Linked DNA regions of Homo sapiens: all the other regions are linked to region 2. The links are contacts of gene promoters, found by promoter capture Hi-C in blood cells and fetal thymus (Javierre and others, 2016). All regions are on one chromosome and are shown on one strand. Each heading gives the region's core, a stretch centred on a gene start or on the middle of the fragment in contact. The rest is flanking DNA. Distances are from core to core; before and after follow the strand shown.

Region 1 (3,763 bases), core at 236-2,735, 390 kb before region 2:
GTCCCTCCCCACTTTCCTGCAGCACCCCAGCCTCGCTGGCCTTTGTGGAGTGCTCGGACTTCATTTATTCTGTGGGTCTTGGCTTAAAGGTCAGCACCTCTGGGAAGCCTCCTCGGGCCTCCCTCCTGTCAGAGCTGGTGATCAGCCGCACGGCCCCTTGCCAGTTCTTGGGATCATGGTTGTTCATCTGCTGCAACTCCTGCAGACACTGAGAAGTACACTGAGGGGGATGCCTGAGCTGGGCCAGTGTCGGGGTACCCAGCGGGATAAAGGGTTCGGGACCTGGGCTCCAAGGAGGGGGCTGGGAAGGGGTGTTCAGGGAGGACTGAGTGATGGCTTGGAGGCGGCTGGACCAGGAACACCTCATGGGAGTTTGCGAATGGGGAGGGGACTCTGGAGATGGCTGTGCCAGGCCTGACTTCATTCCTTGCATTCCTCAGCAGGCCCCAGACTCCTGATGGTCCTAAGTGGGGGAAGGTGAGCCAGAGAGGGCCTTCTGGGTACTGCCCTCCCCCCACTCCATCAGTCTGTCTCAGTCTCTCTTTACACCCTCCCCCATCCAGGTCTCAGGGCTGGATCCATCCTCCTGCCCACTCCCCAATCTCCTTATCCTTTGGCTGCGCCTTAGGGTCACCCGGGGTGGGAGGCACTGCAGGGGCCCAAGCTGGACCATTTGAAGCTGACTGTACAGCTGTGGGGTCTGGGCCTTGGGGTTTTTTAATGCTCCCCTGGCGACTCTGACATGCTTCTGAGCTGGAGTGAGGGCTGCTGGCCTGCAGGAATGGCAACAAATGTGTTTTAGCTTTTGGCATGTTCTGGGTGCTTTTCTAGGCTTCTGACATGGAGGGGTTAAGTCACGGCACGCTACGGGGACATGTGACTGTGATTCCTGTGTTCCAGATAAGGCAACTGAGGCCCAGAGAAGGCCTCGAGCTTGGCGATGGCAGTCTCTGTCACTGTCTTATCTTCCCATTTCTGGTCTGTCCAGATGTCTGTCTGGGCCTTCTCTGTTTCACCTCTGTCTCTCTCCCTGTTTTTCTGCCTCTTATCTCCCTTCCCCACCCCACCCTCCTGCATTTCAGCTTCCCTCCTCCCCTGGCAGAAACTTCCCAGATTTCTGTGTTTTGAGGCAGGATCTGGCTGAAGCCACAGAGGGGAGATGGGTTCTGCAGGCCCAGGACATCCTTCTGAGGGGAAGGATGCTGATGTCACCACGCTGGCCTCCCTAACAGCTCCTGACACGTGGAGTCTGGGGCTGGGGGCAACACACCATCTGACTGACAGTCCAAGGGTGGCTAGGGCTGGCTCTGCAAGTTTGCAGGGAGGACTGTCCCCACGGGTTGACTCTGACATGCCCTGTGACACCAGCCACCTCTACGGTCCCGGGAGTCCTCTACTGCCAGTTAATGTTTCAGCTTTTGTGGGTAGGACTGCCTGTCGGTCAGTAGTTTAATTGCAACAAAGGTTTGTGCTAGAAAGGCGAATATTACATTGCAAGAGCCTTTATTATTTGATGGGACTAGGGGGGACTGATAGCTGATGGTCCCGTATGTCCCCACTCACTGAGGGATGAGGGCTCCCCTTGCCTCCTCTCCCCCTACCCCTCTCCAGCGAAGGGCTCAGGAGTCCAGCTCCACCTGCAGCCTCTCCCTGCTCCGGCACAGCATCCTCTGACCTTGGGCGAGGCCCTGAGCCTCAGATGTTTTTGAGTTCCCACATCTGGAGCAGGAGGATAATGATTCCTGCTGCCTCCCAGGGTTGCTGGGAGGATGAAGTGAGTCTGCTGTGTGATGCTCAGAACAGGGCCACTGTCATTATGCCATTCTGGTTACTAGTACTCTTATTACCATTACACTTATTAGAGAGGCAGGATCCGTGCTTGGATTTAGTAGTTAGGATTCACAGGGTGAGTGATCCATAATTCTTTGCCATTACGATGAGGTCACATTTCCTTTGGTAAAATGTTGAACACCTTTGTATTATGGAAATGTTCACACATACCCAGAAGAATAGTCTCGCGCCCTCCTGGGGTCCCTGTCAGCAGCTCAGCAGGTAGCAGCTGTGGCCAGGCCTTGTCGCCTGTGCCTGCTCCTCACCTCCCTGCTTATTTCAGAGCAAATCCCAAACGTCGTACAGCCAGAAATATTCCACACTTTTCCAGAACAAGCCTGCCTCAGTCTCCTCATGCTTCCCCAGTTGTCTTATAATCCTTTTTTTTTTTTTGAGACAGAGTCTCACTCTGTCACCCAGGCTGGAGTGCAGTGGTGCGATCTTGGCTCACTGCAACCTCCGCCTCCTGGGTTCAAGTGATTCTCCTGCCTCAGCCTCCCGAGTAGCTGGGACTACAGGCGTGTGCCATGATGCCCGGCTAATTTTTGTATTTTTAGTAGAGATGGAGTCTCACCATATTGATCAGGCTGGTCTTGAAGTCCTGACCTCAAGTGATATAACCATCTCAGCCTCCCAAAGTGCTGGAATTATAGGCGTGAGCCACCGTACCCTGCCATAATCCTTTTTCATTTGTTTTTTGTTGTTGTTGTTTGAGACAGAGTCTCACTCTGTCTCCCAGGCTGGAGTGCGGTGGCACGATCTCGGCTCACTGCAACCTCCGCCTCCCAGGTTCAAGCACTTCTCCCTGCCTCAGCCTCCCGAGTAGCTGGGATTACAGGCGCCCGCCACCACGCCTGGCTAAGTTTTGTATTTTTTAGTAGAGACAGAGTTTCCTAGGCTGGTCTCGAACTCCTGACCTCAAGTGATCCACCCGCCTCGGCCTCCCAAAATGTTGGGATTATAGGCGTGAGCCACGGCGCCCGGCCCATTTGTTTGATTTGGGTCTGGACAAGGTCTACACTTTGCATCCGGTTGATAGGCCTCTTTTTTTTGTTTTGTTTTGTTCCCTTTGTTACCCAGGCTGAAGTGCAGTGGAGCGATCAGAGCTCACGTGCAGCCTTGACCTCCCCTGCTCAAGCAATCCTCCCGCCTCAGTCTCCTGAATAGCTGGGACCACAGGTGTGCGCCGTCATGCTCAGATACTGGCATCAGCTCTTTGGCGTGCATGTTGTCGTAGTTTTTCTACAGGCGACCTAGGCCATTTGTCCTGGAGTTTTGCAGTCTGGGGCCAGCTGATACATCCTTGTGGTGTCATTGCACGTGTTCTCTGTCTCTGTGCTTCCTGTAAGTTAGGACTTAGGTCTAGAAGCTCGATCTGATGCAGGTTCAGTTTCTTCTGGCAAGCACGCTTTCTTAGGTGGTTGCTTGGATGAGCATCAGAATTACTTACATGTCTGTATGACTGTCAAGTTCAGTTTTCAAGTAAAAATTAAGTTTTTTTTAAAAAAGCGAGTGGGTTGAGAAGAACACTCTGAAGTCACTCCTAGTAAGGCTGGTACCCAGATCCAGCAGAAGTAGGGTGGGAGGGACCAAAGGACTGAGGCTCGGGTCCCCCCTTCCCCACCCCCCGGGGCCTGGGAGCAATAGGCTGGGTGCCCCGGCTTCAAGTAAACCAGTGGCATTAACATGTGGGCCTCTGGTTCCTGCTTTGCTAGGGCCACAGGCTTCCAGCTGAGAGCTGCTGCCACCCACCCTGGCAACCCCTTCCGCATCGCGTGGTGGTGACACCTTCAGAACAGAGTGGTCTCCCACCCCAGCTCTACCCTTGGCTGCCTGTGTCACCCTGGGTGGCTTTCCCAGCCTCTCTACCTGCTTCCTTCTTGACAGCCTGATGGTGGCCATACGTCCCTTGGGCTGTGGTGACTGGGCCTCT
Region 2 (4,201 bases), core at 1,652-4,151:
GGTGCGGTGGCTCACGCCTGTAATCTCAGCACTTTGGGAGGCTGAGGCAGGTGGATCACGAGGTCAGGAGTTCGAGACTAGCCTGGCCAACATGGTGAAACCCTTTCTCTAAAAAAATACAAAAATTAGCTGGGCACAGTGGTGCACCTGTAGTCCCAGCTACTCGGAGGCTGAGGCAGAATAGCTTGAACCCGGGAAGTGGAGGTTGCAGTCAGCTGAGATGGTGCCACTGCACTCCAGTTCAGGCGACAGAGTGAGACTCCGTCTCAGAAAAAAAACAAAAACAAACAAAAAATAAGGTGGCTGGGTGCGGTGGCTCAAACCTATAATCCCAACACTTTGGGAGGCTGAGGCAGGCAGATCTTGAGGTCAGGAGATCGAGACCATCCTGGCTAACCGGTGAAACCCTTTCTCTACTAAAAATACAAAAAATTAGCCGGGCATGGTGGCACGTGCCTGTAGTTCCAGGTACTCCAGAGGCTGAGGCAGGAGAATCACTTGAACCCAGGAGGCAGAGATTGCAGTGAGCTGAGATTGCACCACTGCACTCCAGCCTGGGTGACAGAGCAAGACTCTGTTTCAAAAAGAAAAAAAAAAAACAGTGTATTATGGAAAACGAGTAAACACGTATAAATGCATAGAAAATGTTAAAACATTTTGCAAACAACCCAGATGTCCAAAAGGTGTCTAGTTCATTATACTAAGATAAGGCTTTACATTGTAGTTGTAAAAAAAAAAACGCCCAGTGGAGTAGCTCACGCCCAGCACTTAGTACTTTGGGAAGCCGAGGCAGGAGGAACAGTTGAAGCCAAGAGTTGGAGACAAGCCTAGAAAACATAATGAGGCCCCATCTCTGTTTCTATATATAAAAAAAGAAAAAAAAAACCCTGATATATAAATCTCTCCATATATAACTGAAAAAACCCAAGATGCTGATAGAGGTATACAATATGTTACCTTGATTTTATATTTTTAAAAATTTATACCTCGTGATGCAAGTTAACTACCTTGATATTAAAAGGGAAAATGCACAATATTTAGATTGATGTTTATTTGCATATGCATTAGAAAACCTGAAAGGCGTACAGTGAAAAAGCAAAAAACAAGCAAAACCAAGAAAACAACAACAAAACTCCAAGCCACAAGCAATGGCACCTGCATGGAATAGTTCTGAGTTTGGCAAAGGACAGCAACAAGAGAGATTTCTCACAGCATCTTTTGATACTTTTTTTCTTTTTTTTGAGACGGAGTCCCACTCTGTTGACCAGGCTGGAGTGCAGTGGCGTGATCTCGGCTTACTGCAACCTCCGCCTCCCAGGTTCAAGTGATTCTCCTGCCTCAGCCTCCCGAGTAGCTGGGACTACAAGCGCGTGCCACCACACCCAGTTAATTTTTTATTTTTCGTAGAGATGGGGTTTCACCATGTTGGCCAGGGTGGTCTTGAATTCCTGACCTCAGGTGATCCACCCGCCGTGGCCTCCCAAAGTGCTGGGATTACAGGCGTAAGCCAGTGCGCCCGGCCGATACTTTTTTTTGTTGAGTCTTGTGAATAGAATACATATTCTAGAATAAAATAAAAAGCTTAAAATTAACAAAAAACAAGTTTATTCCACACCTACCCAATTTCACATAGACTTGAAAACACTGATCATATAATACGTGGTTTTTTCTATTGAATATTTACTGTTCATCTAAAGTACCTCAGAAAACACAAATATGAATCTTACACTAGGATTTGTTGACATGACCACAAATTGTGAAATTTCAAAGTCCTCTCAATAGCCTTCCAATCCTAGTAACTCAGGTACACCTGGATTCCTGACAACTCTATTTCTTTGTTTTCTTTCATCACTTAGGTTCATTTCTATGGGTTCTGTTATTGGCATTTTTTTTTTCTCATATCTTTGCAAAACCATCCTTTATGGTGAAAGTCATGAAGGATTCTTCACAAATGCAGGAAAATGCATTGCTAACAAAGTGCTAAGTCAGAAGTGTCTTGGGACCTGTTTGAAAACAAGATTCGGCCGGGCGCGGTGGCTCACGCCTGTAAAGTAATCCCAGCACTTTGGGAGGCCGAAGCGGGAGGATCGCTCGGGTCCAAGCGTTCGGGACCAGCCTAGGGATGCGAGACTCCCTTCTCTATTTAAATAATACTAAAAAAGAAGAAAGAAAACAAGATTCAACAGTCTTGTCTGTTTCCATTTCGGAGTGTGCTTCCTCCTTCAATTGCACATTGCCGTATTCCCTTCCAGTTTGCATTCCCCCTAATGACTGAGTTAACTAAACTGGCACAGCCTGCCTGTTCTTTTGATCCCAAAAGGGTCACTTGGCTATTCCTTGCCACCAATGTCATCATCACAGCCGACTCAGTCGGCCAGAGGACTGAGGGCCTCGGAGGCAGTCAGCGCTACCGTAAACGCGACAGCAGCGAAGTCCATCTGCGGGGGATCCGCGTCAAAGGCTGCTTCCCTCGCCTTGCAGCCTTCCACAAACAGCCTGCGGCGTTCCTCGAAATCCCGTAGTAATCTGACCGGAATCATGGAGCTACCATCCAGATACTCGCGGAACAACAGCTGCCGGTTAATTTCTAAGAAAGCGAGCTGCTGATGGGGGTCTGGCGCGGAGGCCAGGCCCGGGACGCTGCTGGGGATGGGCCCGGGCACAGGGCCCGGCATCCGCGCCATGGACCGCGCAGCTTCGGCCACTGGGCCTTCCCGAGCCTCCTGCACCCGAACCCCGCCGCCGACTGCCCCCCGCAGTACGTCGCTGACGCCACTCGCGGTGCCCACCTGTGGGACACTGCTATCTCCGGGGAGCTCGGACATCTCCAACAGCCCAGTCGGCTCCGCCATAGTCCCAGCGTTTCTACGGAGACTGGAATAACGGCACTGCACTGCTGTATGCGAGACCTGCGCATGCGCGAGTCTCAGTGAGCGCGTAAACGCTGTGCGTGCCAGAGTGTGCGCATGCGTAAGCACGGTGGCCAATCCTCTAGCGTTCCCTAGCGGTCCTGAGTAGCCATTACGTCTGTAGCCGCCTCTGGTCCTCTGAGCGCCTGAGGACCTGCGGACTGCGCGGTATCTTAAATTACAACCACTTCAGTATTAATGTAAAGTTCCTTATACGGTCATTTTCCAGCTCCTGTCTTTTTTTTTTTTTTTTCAGACTGGGTCTCGCCCTGTCGCCTAGGCTGGAGTGCAGTGGTGCGATCTCGGTTACTGCTGCTTTGACCTCCCAGCCTCAAGCCATCCTCCTGCCTCAGCCTCTGGAGTAACTGGAACTACAGGTGCACACAACCACACCCAGCTGATTTTTTATTTTTTGTAGAAATTGGGTCTCACTATGTTGCCCAGGCTGGTCTCGAACTCCTGGACTCAAGTGATCATCCTGCCTTGGCCTCCCAAAGTGCTGGGATTACCGGCCTGAGCCACTCGGCCTGGCCTGTAAGTAATATTTTGACACTGGAAGTTTGGGGGTTTCCCAAAACCACCTTTAGGTTTGATAATTCCCAGAGCTCATTGAAATCTGTTATATTCACAGTCATGCTTATTACAGGCAAAGGACACAGATTAGAAGAGATGTATAAGGCACAATCTGGGATGGGGAGGGTTCCAAATGTGAAGTTCCTGTGTTCCTAGGGATGTGTTACCCTTTGTCGTCCATGTGTGGCAATAAGTGTGGGGGTAGTGCTAACATAGGACTCTCACCCAGGCTTTGGTGTCCAGAGTTTTTACTGGGGTTTTACTACCTAGGCATGCTTGATTAAACCATCGTCCATTTTGTTGAAGTCAATCTCCAGCCTCCTACCTGATATCACATGGCTCCAAGCCCCAACTCTCTAATGATATGGTTAGCCTTTCTGTGTGGCTAGCTCTGATCCTGATGATAACCCAAAACGTGAAAGTCTATGTTCCATTTAAAATCAGTCAGCTGTGGCTGGGTGTAGTGGCTCATGCCTGTAATCCCAGCAAGTTGGGAGGCAAAGGTGGGAGGATCGCTTGAGCCCATGAGTTTGAGACCAGCCTGGGCAACATAGTGAGACCCCTGTCCCTACAGAAAAAAAAAATTAGGCAGGCATGGTGGCATGTGCACCTGTAGTCTCAGCTATTCAGGAGGCTGAGGTGGGAGGATGACTTGAGCTTGGTAGGTGGACTGTGCAGTGAGCTATGATTGCACCACTGCACTCCAGCCCTGTATGACA
Region 3 (4,235 bases), core at 377-2,876, 290 kb before region 2:
ACTTTTAGGGTAATTTGTTATGGCAGCAATGCAAAGGAAATACACACCAACGCACACACAGTCCCACGTCATGGGTGTCTTTTCCTCATTGTTTATTTCAACAAGGATTTCAAAAAGTAGAAAAATAAACATTTTCCTGGAGGTGAGTTGGATTTACATACACAAATACATAAATAGCGACTGGGTGACAATAAATTAAGCCAAGTGGCTAATTTATAAATAAAATCTCAGGTTGCATGACTGGCGGAAGGGTCAGACACACAGGTCCCCGCTGGCAACACAATTCAGGTCTCGCGTGAGGAGGCGGAAGAGGTTGAAGGTGACAGAGGCCTCGAGGCAGCCAGGGGACTCCTGTAGGGAGGAGGGGATGGGTCAGGGGCTGTCTGGGTTCTGGGCTCCCAGTGGCTCCCCAGACCTCAGTCCCTCTCTTCCCGGGTCACTCACCTTTTTTGGGGCCTCCTGGAGCCGGTGCAGCCAATGGTGGAGGCGGCCCCGGGTCCTGGGCCCTGCCGTGGGCTGAGGCTGGATCTGTGGGCAGAGGAGGGCGGTGTGTGAGCCGGGGCCTTGGCCAGGGGAAGGACGCTGCTCAGAGCTCACAGACCTGGGTGCCCGGGCCCTGACGACTCACACAGGCCCGGAGCTGGGAGAGGATATGGTGCAGGGTGTGAAGGGGCTGGTCCAAGACATCCCCCAGGGCTGGGTCAGTGTCAGCGGTGGCCTCCAGAACCTTCAGCGTCAGGGCCAGCTCAGCCTCCAAAGCCACGGGGCGCTCCCTCACCTGAGGAGAGGTGAGAAAGAGCAGGTGAGGGGGGAGGTGAGGGGAACAGGTTGGGGGAGGAGGATAGAGAGGAACAAGTGAAGGTGACAGGCACAGGGGAGAGGGCACAGCCAGTGTGGTCAGGTAGGAGCAGAGGGAAGGGGTAGCAGGTGTGGGGAGAGGAGAGAGGGACAATGGAGAAGGAGAAGGTGAAGGGGCCACTACAGAGCCAGGTGAGCAGGGCTGGGAGGGCAGGGGTGGGCCTGACTCCCCCTCTCACCTGCAGCTGCCTCAGGTCCCAGGTCCTGGGGAAGAGGCGGGAGCGGCACTTGCAGTCCTTCAGCAGAAGCGACTCTTCCTAGACAGCAAAGGCACAGGTTAGCCCCAGCAGGAGGGGTGGAGGTTAGACCACTCTGATGGGATTGGAGGATGGCTGACAACAGGATAGGGGAGGTTAACTGCTGGGAGGATGGTAGAGGACCCTCTTCTTCAGGAAAACATGAGTCAGTCCCTGCAGTAGGAGCATGAGATAGCCCACTGCAGGGAGGGTGGAGGCTAGCCCAGTGAAGGAAGCTGGGAGTGGGAAAGCATGGTGACCCTTGGAGTGCGGGTGGAGGCTAGTCCATGGCAGGAGGGCAGGGGGAGACTCACTAAGGCATCTTTGGCCCTCTTAAAGGCCTGCAGCTCCTGTGGAGACAGGGACTTGAACTGGGCTATGTGGCAGCCCCTTGCATCCGGGAGAGCCCCGCGGAGCCTGGCGACAGGAACTGCTCCAGTCACGGTCAGCACTGCGGCCATCAGCACCAGCACTGGCATGCAGTCCCCGGTCATGTCTGTGTCACAGAGAGAAAGGGAGCTGAGGGAATGCAGAGGCTGCCCACTGAGGGCAGGGGCTGCAGGAGCTGAGCACGGACAGAGATGTGGGACTCACCTAGTTTCATTCCTGATCTCTGGTCTTTGTCAGCAGAAGAAACACTCTGAGGCTGTCACCCAGGGTCTGTTTGGGTCTTGTCTGGAGTCTCTGTTCTTTTCAGTCCCCTCTTCTGGATCTCAGACTGTGTCCTGGCTTTGACTCTTTCTGTCAGTTTTGAGCTCTGTCTGGGATGTAATTCCTGCCTGAGCTCCATGGGGCAGCTTTTATCCCTGACAGAAGGGCAGTCCCAGCTGATGTAGGAAAAGTGAAAACACAGCCTCAGGTAAGACACCGGCCACCAGGGGAGCCCCAGGCTGGGAAAGCCCAGAGCAGGGCAGGGCTAGTGAGCCAGATGAGCAGCTGGAGGGAAAGAGAAACTGATGGAGACTCAGGGGTAACCTACAGGAAGGTATGTTCCCAAGAGGATTCCACCTGCTCTGGTTTTGTTGTTGTTTAAGACAGGGTCTCACTCTGTCACTGCAGTGCAATGGCATGATCACAGCTCACTGCAGCCTCAAACTCCTGGGCTCAAGCCATCCTCCTCACCCAGCCTATTAAAGTGCTGAGATTACAGGCCTGAGCCACCACTCCTGGCATATATATATATATATATATATATATATTTTGAGACAGGGTCTTGTTCGGTCACCCAGGCTGGAGTGCAGTGCAAAATCTTGGCTAACTGCAACCTCCGCCTCCTGGGTTCAAGCAATTCTCTTGCCTTAGCCTCCCAAGTAGCTGAGATTACAGATTTGTGCCACCATTCCCAGCTAATTTTTATATTTTTAGTAGAGATGGCGTTTCACCATGTTGGCAAGGCTGGTCTCAAATTCCTGATGTCAAGTCATCTCTCTGTCTAGGCCTCCCAAATTGCTGGGATTTCAGTGTGAGCCACCATGCCCAGAGGCCAATATTTCTTAATTGCCCAGGCAAGGAAGGACTCAGGAATATGAGGCTCTGCTCAAGAATTGAGGTGTGACGAAGGACTTGAAGGACACCACGTGGGTGCCGTCTTTCTTAGGGAAGTTCAGGCAGTGGTGAAGAGCATGGGTCTTGGAGATGAAGGGTCTGGGGTTCAAACCTGGTTCTGACCCTCACTAGCCGTGTGACCTTGGCAAGGAGGGGTGCATTCAGCAACGCAGATTGCTAATGCACAGATTTGGAGAAAAAATTAATAACACAATTGTTTGTGTATTTATGTGAGTGATTATTTAATAGAATCCACTCATTAAGACCATACTAGGACCTCAGCTGGAGAGTTTAAAACGTGATCTCAACGGACACTACTCCTCCACAAGGCAAGTATGCTAACCCATCCTATAGGTGAGGAAACAGAGGCTCAGAAAAGTAATTTGCCCTGAATTCCACTGTAATTAACTGGCAGGGTCAGAACTGAAACTCAGGCCACCTGAGTCCCTGGCTCGGCCTCTTTTTTTGCTGTAAGGTGCACCTCACAATCATCATACGGAAAACAACCAATGCGATCAAAACACTCTTTGATAACTGGCAATAAATTTAAACCGGGAGACAGAATAGCAAATGCACAGGAACTTCACAAATACAAACACACGTAAGGGAATCCAAAGAACCACAGTCGGTTAAGGACCCTTGGGCCTTTCACTACCAAATCCCTCATGGATTGGTGTCCCTTAGATGCCGGATCCAAGAGTCACGGATTCACAGAATCTCAAAGCTGGCTGTGGGGCTACAAATCCGGGGTTAGGACCTGGTGTTGGGGGTGTCCTGGTAACCACACAAGGAGGAACTGGTCCCTGTTGCCTGGGGTCAGCCACGGTTTCCAGAGCTCAAGTTTTTTCCTGCCACAGCAACCGTTGGAGGGTCGTACAATGCACCCCGAGGAAATATCGTGGCTTCCTGGAGAACTGTGGTCTCTTCCCTGTAGAAGGACCCGCTCCTCTTATATCTGAGACAGTGGATCCAAGTCAGGCCCAAGGCTGCGAAGAAGTTTTCGTGCCTCAGCACCCATTGACTGAGAGCCTCGCCCGGCCAGCCCAATGGACGACAGGAGCTGCTTTCGGCAGCCAATGGCGTGGAGGTTTCCGTGCTGCCAGAGGGGGCGGGGTCAGAGGCAAGGCCCAGAGTGTGCAGCCAGCCGGAGCTCCCACGTGAGCAGGCGCAGGAGGTTGAAGACCACGCTGGCTTTGCGGCACCGAGGCGAGTCCTGGAGCCAGGGAGGGAGGGCAGCGGGGCTAAGCCAGGCTCTTCCCCCCGCCCCCGGAATCCCCCTCCAGTCCCGCTGCTCGCAGCCTCAGTCCCGTCCTTGTCAGCCTCGCCTGGTCCTCCCTGCGGGCTAACCCTGTATTGCCTGTTGCACTCACCGCTCTCCGGGGTTTGTGACGCCTCTTCTGGGCCCCGGGGACCTTCCTGGAGGAGCCTGGCCGTGCCAGCTCAAGCTGGAGGTGGGACATGAGGCAAATGGAAAAGGCGAAGGACGAAGCCCCTCTCTGCATCTGCCCGTGGCCCTCCCAGCCGCAGACTCGAGCCCGGATTTCAGGACACCCAGAGGACCCGACTCCGGTCTGGATGGGTTTTTCCGCTAAGCAG

Evidence for each region. The method cuts DNA at HindIII sites, captures the fragments that hold promoters and counts their contacts. A CHiCAGO score of 5 or more calls a contact.
Region 1: a fragment that was not itself captured here is called in contact with the fragment with the promoter of EID2B in region 2 in 1 of 17 cell types (neutrophils); the score reaches 5.0 in neutrophils.
Region 3: the fragment with the promoter of IFNL3 here is called in contact with the fragment with the promoter of EID2B in region 2 in 3 of 17 cell types (neutrophils, erythroblasts and monocytes); the score reaches 10.9 in neutrophils.

What each region holds. Positions count from the first base shown.
Region 1 is chr19:39,139,111-39,142,873 of GRCh38, forward strand. All of the region lies in intron 1 of PAK4 (p21 (RAC1) activated kinase 4), which reads left to right. Among named protein-coding and RNA genes, the nearest start is that of PAK4-AS1, 4.4 kb to the left of the region's middle. RefSeq lists an enhancer at 1-516. The HindIII fragment of the contact is 8,541 bases long and covers 1-3,763 here.
Region 2 is chr19:39,529,951-39,534,151 of GRCh38, forward strand. EID2B (EP300 interacting inhibitor of differentiation 2B) reads right to left here and starts at 2,902. Exons shown (of 1, transcript NM_152361.3): 1 at 1,037-2,902. The coding sequence starts at 2,852. The coding sequence ends at 2,367. The HindIII fragment of the contact is 7,702 bases long and covers 1,580-4,201 here.
Region 3 is chr19:39,243,380-39,247,614 of GRCh38, forward strand. It overlaps IFNL3 (interferon lambda 3), which reads right to left and starts at 1,627. Exons shown (of 5, transcript NM_172139.4): 1 at 1,409-1,627; 2 at 1,038-1,115; 3 at 629-778; 4 at 445-528; 5 at 174-351. The coding sequence starts at 1,588. The coding sequence ends at 253. It also overlaps the pseudogene IFNL4. The HindIII fragment of the contact is 30,036 bases long and covers 1-4,235 here.